Linked DNA regions of Homo sapiens: region 1 is linked to region 2. Evidence: promoter capture Hi-C in 16 types of primary human blood cells and fetal thymus (Javierre and others, 2016). All regions are on one chromosome and are shown on one strand. Each heading gives the region's core, a stretch centred on a gene start or on the middle of the fragment in contact. The rest is flanking DNA. Distances are from core to core; before and after follow the strand shown. Region 1 overlaps NTSR1 (neurotensin receptor 1). Region 2 holds the start of RBBP8NL (RBBP8 N-terminal like).

Evidence for each region. The method cuts DNA at HindIII sites, captures the fragments that hold promoters and counts their contacts. A CHiCAGO score of 5 or more calls a contact.
Region 1: a fragment that was not itself captured here is called in contact with the fragment with the promoter of RBBP8NL in region 2 in 1 of 17 cell types (M1 macrophages); the score reaches 5.8 in M1 macrophages.

The regions. Positions count from the first base shown.
Region 1 is chr20:62,756,178-62,760,254 of GRCh38, reverse strand. NTSR1 (neurotensin receptor 1) reads right to left here. Exons shown (of 4, transcript NM_002531.3): 3 at 1,899-1,989; 4 at 1-237. Among named protein-coding and RNA genes, the nearest start is that of LINC00659, 19 kb to the left of the region's middle. The HindIII fragment of the contact is 434 bases long and covers 1,034-1,467 here.
Region 2 is chr20:62,425,289-62,429,131 of GRCh38, reverse strand. It overlaps RBBP8NL (RBBP8 N-terminal like), which reads left to right and starts at 1,593. Exons shown (of 14, transcript NM_080833.3): 1 at 1,593-1,672. LOC105372710 (a long non-coding RNA gene) reads right to left here and starts at 1,302. Exons shown (of 4, transcript NR_187662.1): 1 at 1,159-1,302; 2 at 1-57. RefSeq lists a silencer at 2,085-2,379 and an enhancer at 1,994-2,753. The HindIII fragment of the contact is 11,585 bases long and covers 1-3,843 here.

The DNA of each region.
Region 1 (4,077 bases), core at 1-2,500, 330 kb before region 2:
TCGCGGGTGGCATTGCTGGAGAGGGTGTGGTTGCTGGACACGCTGTCGGCCTTCCTCGAGAAGGCTGGCCTCTTCCTCCTGCGCCGCCACACCGGGCAGAGGCAGGCCAGTGTGGCCAGGAAGATGTGGCGGAAGTTGGCAGAGACGAGGTTGTACAGGATGGGGTTGATGGTGGAGCTGACGTAGAAGAGTGCGTTGGTCACCATGTAGAAGTAGTGGTAGAAGTCATAGAGGAACCTGCGGGGAGAGAGAGGCGCTCAGATCCCAGAGAGAACTCTTGAGGGCCCCAAGGCAGGGTGACAGCCGGGGCCACAGCGGCTGAGGGACGTGGTGGCTCAGACGCTAATTAAAACACCCCTTGAGAATGGTTGTTTGGGGACATTTCATAACAAGCTCCAGGGTCTGGCTTCTCCTGAGCAGCTGCAAGTTCTCGTCGTGCTCCCGCCCAGCCTGGGCTGCTGCTGCTTTTTTTTTTTTTTTGAGACGGAGTCTCGCTCTGTCTCCCAGGCTGGAGTACAGTGGCGCGATCTCGGCTCACTGCAAGCTCCACCTCCCGGGTTCACACCATTCTCCTGCCTCAGCCTCCCGAGTAGCTGGGACTACAGGGACCCCCCCACCACGCCCGGCTAATTTTTTGTATTTTTGGTAGAGACGGGGTTTCACCGTGTTAGCCAGGATGGTCTCGATCTCCTGACCTCGTGATCCACCCACCTCAGCCTCCCAAAGTGCTGGGATTACAGGCGTGAGCCACCGTGTCCCACCCAGCCTGGGCTTCTTTAGGTGGAGCGTGGGCTCTGCTTGTCCATCCCTGCCTCTCCTTGCAGCTGCCTGCATTGCCCTTCGCAGCTCTGTGCATCCAAGGGTCCAGGGCTTGGCTGGTCCCGGCCTAACCAAACAGCCAGGGCAGTAACCCCCTCCACACCTCCCCAGCAGCCACACACCTTGCCCTCAGCTTGTTGCCTCCCCCCACAGTGATCTCACTCCCTCACCAGGCAGCTCAATTACTACCAGTCAGCCCTGAGTTTCAGAAGCTTTTGCAGGGGCCACACTCTGTTCCCCGTGCCTTCTCCTCCTCATTGGTCGTAGGTGCGCCCTCCCTGGTGGTTGTCACTGGAAGGAACCTTTTATTCTGGGATCTGGCAGCCCCACTGCACAGAAAAGGGTTCACAAGTGGGCCCCAAGCTGCCATCTCAGGATGGCCAGCTGGCAAGGCTGGCCTCTGGCTGGTGCCTGGGGCCTTGGATTTTGGGAAGGCTCTGCCATTTTTGGGTGAGAAGGGCTCCCTGCCCCTGAACTGTTGGTGCAAACAGTAGGGGTTTTGCCAGGCAGTGGGTGCCCCTGTGATCGGCCCCCATATCGTCCTGTGAGGCTCCTCTGGGAGGGGGCCCTGGAAGCTGCATCTGGTCTTCCGCTGACCCCACTCCATGTGTCTTTTCCCTTTGCTGACTTTGCTGTATAAGCAAAGCTTTGTCAGTATTGGTGCTCTTGCTGCGATAAGTCACAGCCCTGAGTATAACTCCAGGCTGAGCCCTGTGGGTCCAACCTGGGTGGCCTTGGGGCTCTGACAGCTGCCATATGAGGAGGTGACACCCCCACCATGTCCCCAGCAGAGCCAGGGATGTCTCTCTTTCACCTTCGGGAAACTGCCTGGGCCATCTCTCTTAGGACCAACTTTCTTTCTCTGCACCAGTCTGGCCTGAATAGCCCCTGCCTTGAACCTGTCCCTCCATGGCCTTCTCCCGGCCCCAGTCACAGCACAACCCTGCCCAGGGGGTCGCCGGGGGACTCACCACACCCCTGCCCTGAGTGGATCCCCTCAGCAGTGCCTGCCACACCCACCATCTGTTTTGGGAGCACTTACTTGTCCAGCACCCAACTTCCTGGTTCCCGGTACTCACGGAGTCCACTGCTCATCCGAGATGTAGCAGAACATGAGGCGCCGCACGTGGTAGGGCAGCCAGCAGACCACAAAGGCGATGACCACTGCACCTGAGGCACAGAGACGTGGGCTCAGAGACCCACTGCACCTGAGGCACAGAGGCGTGGGCTCAGAGACCCACTGCACCTGAGGCACACAGATGTGGGCTCAGAGACCCACTGCACCTGAGGCACAGAGACGTGGGCTCAGAGACCCACTGCACCTGAGGCACAGAGACATGGGCTCAGAGACCCACTGCACCTGAGGCACAGAGACGTGGGCTCAGAGACAGGACATGGGCTCAGAGACCCACTGCACCTGAGGCACAGAGACGTGGGCTCAGAGACCCACTGCACCTGAGGCACAGAGGCGTGGGCTCAGAGACCCACTGCACCTGAGGCACAGAGGCGTGGGCTCAGTGGGGGAGACATGGGCTCAGAGACCAGACACAAGCTCAGAGAGGGAGAGACGTGGGCTTGGGGAGGGAGCATAAGCTCAGAGACAGGACACAGGCTCAGAGACAGGACACAGGCTCAGAGAGGGAGAGACATGGGCTGAGGGAGGTAGACACTGGCTCAGAGACATGGGCTTAGAGACACAGAGATATGGCCTCAGAGAAGGAGACACGTGGTCTGAGGGAGATGCAGGGAGACATCCCATGTTCATGGATTGGAAGATTTAATATTGTTAAGGTGTCAGTACTACCCAAAGCACTCTACAGATTCAATGCAATCCGTATCAAATTTCAAGAATGCTTTTGGCAGAAATAGAAAAATCTGTGCTAAAATTCATATGAAATCTCAAAGGATCCCGGACAGCCAAAACAATCTTGTAAGAAAATAAAGTTGGAGGTCTTACACTTCTTGATTTCAAAACTTACTACAAAGTTACAGTGTGGTGCTGGCATAAAGATAGACACGTAGACCAAGGGAATAGACTAGAAATCTCAGAAACGAACCCTTACCTTTATGGTCAAGTGATCTTCACCAAGACCATTCAGTGGGGAAAGGACAGTCTATTCAACAAAGGGTGTTAGGAAAACGGGACATCCACTTGTATGAAGGTGGATCCTCCCCTCACACCATATACAAAAATGGACTTGAAGTGGATTAAAGACCTGAACATAAGAACTAAAACCATAAAACTCCTAGGAGAAAACATAATTACTTTACAACATTGATTTTGGCAATGATTTCTTGGGTATGACACCAAAAGCACAGGCCACAAAAGAAAAAAGTAGATAAATTGAACAACATAAACACTGAATTTCTGTGTATCAAAGGATGCCATCAGGAGAGTGGAAGTCAGCTCACAAAAAAGGAGAAAATATTTGCAAATCACATCTGATAATGAGTTAACCTTGAGAGTATAACTCCTAAAACTCAACATGAAAACAAACAATCCAATTCACAAATGGGCAAAGGACTCAGACATTTCTCCAAAGAAGATACAAATGGTCAACAAGCACATGAAAGATGTTATTAATCATTAATCTTAAATCACTGGAGAAATGCAAATCAAAACCACAACGAGATGCCACCTCAAATCTATTAGGATGGCTACTATTAAAACAACAGGCACACACTGGGACCAGGACACACCTTGGATGTTGGCAAGCCAGCCGTCCTGAGCTGGGGCTGGTCCTCAGGGTTCCGATAGGATGGGCGTTGCCCTGCTGTGGGCTTCGCCAGCCCTGAGAGCTCCGTGTCCAAAGCCCTGGCTGGTTCCCATGAGCAGGGAAGGCTGAGCCCAGAGCCAGGCTCTCTTAGGGTAATGTGCTTGGCTATGGGCCTCTCCTGTGACTGGCCACACCCTCAAACAAGCCCTGAAAATGGGCCAGCACCAGGGAGGAGCTCAAGCCAAATGCTTCAGGCAAACCAAACTGAAGACCTGGGTCTCAGGCATGAAAGGGCTTCATTCTCTCCAGTTCCCATCACACTCTCCAAGCCCTGTGTTGTTGGCAGCGTCTGCCCTGCCCCTGCCCCGCCTTCTTGCCAAGCACCTCCCACCACAGGGCCTTTGCTCCAGCCATCCCCTCGCCTGCAGCTCTGTTGCCCAGATGGGCTCCTGGTCCTTGGGACTTGCAGGATGCCACCTGCTCTGAGAGCCCCTCCCAGCTGCCAGATGTAGTCAGGGGTGGTGGTGGTGGTATTTTTTTC
Region 2 (3,843 bases), core at 344-2,843:
CCCAGAAGCCCCGCCTCCTAACATCATTGCCTGGGGCGTTAGGATTTCAACGAGAATCTGGGGTAGACACAAAAAACATCCAGACCACAGCACAAAGCAGCTACACATGTCCACGCACACATGTGCACACACACACGTGCAACACATGCACACACAGGCACACACATGTAAGACATGCACACACATTCGTATCCCCACACACACACACACACACACGTGCACACAGTCCCCACACAGGCACACACAAAACACACGCCAGCAGCAAGCAGACCCCACTCACAAAGGGCCCAGCCAGGAACAGGGAGGTGGCCGGAGGAGGGGCCTCCACGAAGTTCCCAGGCCAGCCAGAGCTGGAGTGGCCCATGCTGACCACAACCCCCTCCCAAGAGCCTGGTCCTGAGTGGGAGGGCATCGTGGGGCCAGAGATGACCCAGCCCTCATCCCAAACCCAGAGCTGGCCACCAGCCACCAGCAGGGGCCCTGCCAGGGAGCAGGAAGTCCGTCCTCCCCTCGCGGCAGCGGCTACAGGCCAGGCTCCCAGGCTTCCTCCTCTGAGCCCCGTGCATTCCTGGGGTACTCGGGTGCGCTGGGGATCATGGCCCCAAGGACTCGGGAACCCCCGCTCTGCTTCCGTGCAGAGCTAAGACAGGCTGAGGATGAGGCAGAGGCGGAGGTGGAGGCGGGGAGGAGGGAGTGGGGAGGGGTCGTGGGTAGGACACAGGGGGCAAGGCATGAGGGGGTCAGGGCTGTACCCCGCAGCCACAGTGTTGCTGTCCAGGGAACACACACGAGACCACAGTGTGAGGCTGCTCCAGCACCTGGGCCGTGCCACCCGGGGCCAGGCCAGCCCCCAGCCTATTTGCCCCCCTGGGCTCCACCTGGCCGGGGGCACCCAGCCTACCTGGAGACTGGAGAAGCCCACTCACAAGCACTCACAGACCCCGGGCAGACTGCGCAGACCAGAGGCCCAGCATGCGCCCAGTCCCCCTCAAGCAGAAGGCCTGCTTCCCCAGGCAGGGCGGGGCAGGCTGGGCGGGTCGCTTCCCATAGCAGCTGCTGGATTTCTGTCCACTGGGTTCTGGCAGGGACAGCTCTTGAGCTTATTATCCCCAATTTACAGACAGGGAAACCGAGGCCAGAAAGGGGACTGTCACCTACCTATGGTCAGCCCACGGTGAGCTGAGCTGTGAACAGCAGGAAGGACCACTCTGTGTCAGAGGCCCTACCACCTGTCCCGAGGTGGCGAGACAGCACATTTGCTCACTCCCACCTGCAGCCCCCGACCCAGGCACCCCTGCAAGCCCCCCACCCTTCCCCGCCCGGGCCCTCCGTGTCACAGGCACCAAACTGGATTCTCAGTGCTAACCAGCTTGGCTCCTGCAGCCCAGCCTCACAGTGATTATGAGGAAACAATCCCAACTCTATGTGGCTTCAGACCCAACCTGTCCGGCCACTTTCTGCGAGATGGCAGAACCCGCCTGGCGGCTCAGGGCAGTCTCTGCCTCCTTTCTGCTCCTGGCTGGGAGAATCGAAAACCTGTCAAGCGGGTTTGGCCAAAATCCTGTCTTGTTGCCTGTGCAGGTTCACAGCCCGCTCACTTCTCTCTCCCTGTGAAGAGCGTGGGGGACTCCGCGCAGAGGTCGACAGAGGTTGAGGCAGGGCCAGGAGCCATGTGAGTACCCGGGACCCCGGGGCCAGGCCACCCAAGTAGCCGGGTGAGCTGGGATCCCTGGCTGGGGTGCTCACCAGGGAGGCTGGAGGCCCAGCTTGGACTCCTGCGAGGAGAGCCGCGGGGGTGGGTGGGACTGGACGTCTTCCCTAAGGGGTGGCACAAGGCTGCTCCTGGTCCAGGGACCTAGCAACGGAGAGAGCTCAGTGGGCGTTCCTGGCAGGAGCTGGGTGCAAAGAGGCCAGGCCTAGTCTGGCACCAGGGCCCAGGAAGTGTCCATGGTCTGCTGAGGGGCTTGGGGCATCAGGGACAGGCTGGTGGCCTCGCCCTCCACCCTGGGCCTGTCCCGCCCCACCATCCAGGTTCACAAGAGGATAAGCGGGCGCAGCCACAGGGGTGAGGGTGGTGCAGGGGTGCAGCACCCGCAGCTGGGCACTGAGCAGGGGACTCCTCTGCCGCTGTGTCTGTGGGGAAGCAGCCACAAAGGCGGGCCTTGCTCAACCCCCTCCCCCACGGGCCAGGCCTCAGGGAGCCAGCCGGCAGGGCAGGAGAGCAGCCCGGCCCACCTCCACCTCCGGGAGGGAGTCAGGTTGCAGGGCTGCTGTGCCTGAGCTGCAGGGACACCTCGGCTGGCTCCTCTGTTTATGTGTACACACGAGTGCACGGGCGCACGCGCGTGTGGGGTACACGAGTGCATGTGCACACACAACATGCGTGTGCAGCTGTCCCGGGGGCCCTGCGGCGGTGTGTGCACAGGAGCCTGGGTCAGGGCTCACCACCAACATCTGTTCTACAGTCACAGAAACTGAGGCACGGCCAGACAAGCGACCTGGCCGAAGTCTCCATGGGAGAGGCTTTGCCCATTACCACAGAGGGTGGGAGGAGACTCTGAGGCCATGTCCAGGTCCAAATCTTGCTCCACCTGCTCATCTCTGATCTGCTTCAAGCCTCAGTGTCCAAACCTGTAGAATGAGACAATCAGCACTTCCTCCAAGGCCAGGTGGGCCCCGGCCACATGCATGTGCCCAACCTAGCTATGCAGTGGGTGTTCCACAGGGGCAGCCAGGAGGTGGACAGGGGCAGGGGAATCCCTTGGGGAGAAGCGGGTCAAGGTGCAGAGGGCACCACTCTGAGCTTGGCTTCCTCAGCAAAGCTGCAGGATGGTTTCAGTGCCCATGCAAGTGGGAAAAAGCCTGGTGTGGTGCTTGACACAGAACAGTATGTGATCAACAGCAGCCACTGCCACTGCCACTGCTAATGCCACTGCCACTGCCGCTGCCGCTGCTTCCACTGCCACTGTCACCACTGCCACTGCTACTGCTACCACTGCCACTGCCACTGCTAATGCCACTGCCACTGCCGCTGCCGCTGCTACTTCCACTGCCACTGTCACCACTGCCACTGCTACTGCTACCACTGCCACTGCCACTGCTAATGCCACTGCCGCTGCCACTGCCACTGCCACTCCCACTGCCACTGCTACTGCCACTGCCACTGCTATGCCACTCCCACTGCCACTGCTACTGCTACTGTCACTGCCACTGCTATGCCACTGCCACTGCTATGCCACTGCCACTGCCACTGCTACTGCTGTGGCCATCACCGTTGCTCCTGGATAGGTGGGCAGTCAGTCAGATGGACATACAGACAGCCCAGGCCTCAGAGACGGAGGGTACCAGTGTCCAGCTCCGCACTCCTGCCCCAAAGAGCCTGCTGGGGGTCGGTGGCTGGGGTGGAGAGCAGCCGGCCTGGCAGACGTCCTTGGAGCACTGGTGCCCAGGCGGCTTCTCTGGTTGAGTGCCCTCGGAGAGGCGGGGAGCCCAGTGATGCCCCGGATGCCTCCTGCTCAGACAGCAGAGGAGCTCAGGGGGCCCGGCCTCCCAGAGGACAGGGTAAGAACAGGCATCACTGTGGGTTTTGGCACTCGGCCGGACAATGTCCAGTCCTGCCAGGGCCACAGCTGGGCCTGTGATTCCCTGGCCTGTGTGTGGGAGGCAGGTGGCATCTCCCCTGGGTGTAGCCACAGAGATGCCGTGAGCCCATTGGAGTCCGTAGTGAGCAGCCGTCCAAGGATGAGTGTCATCACCGTCAGAAGCCGGACCTCTGCCCTGAGCGTGGGGAGGGCTGCGTCCTCCTGCACAAGGCCTTTGTGGCAATGAGACTTGACCTTGTCC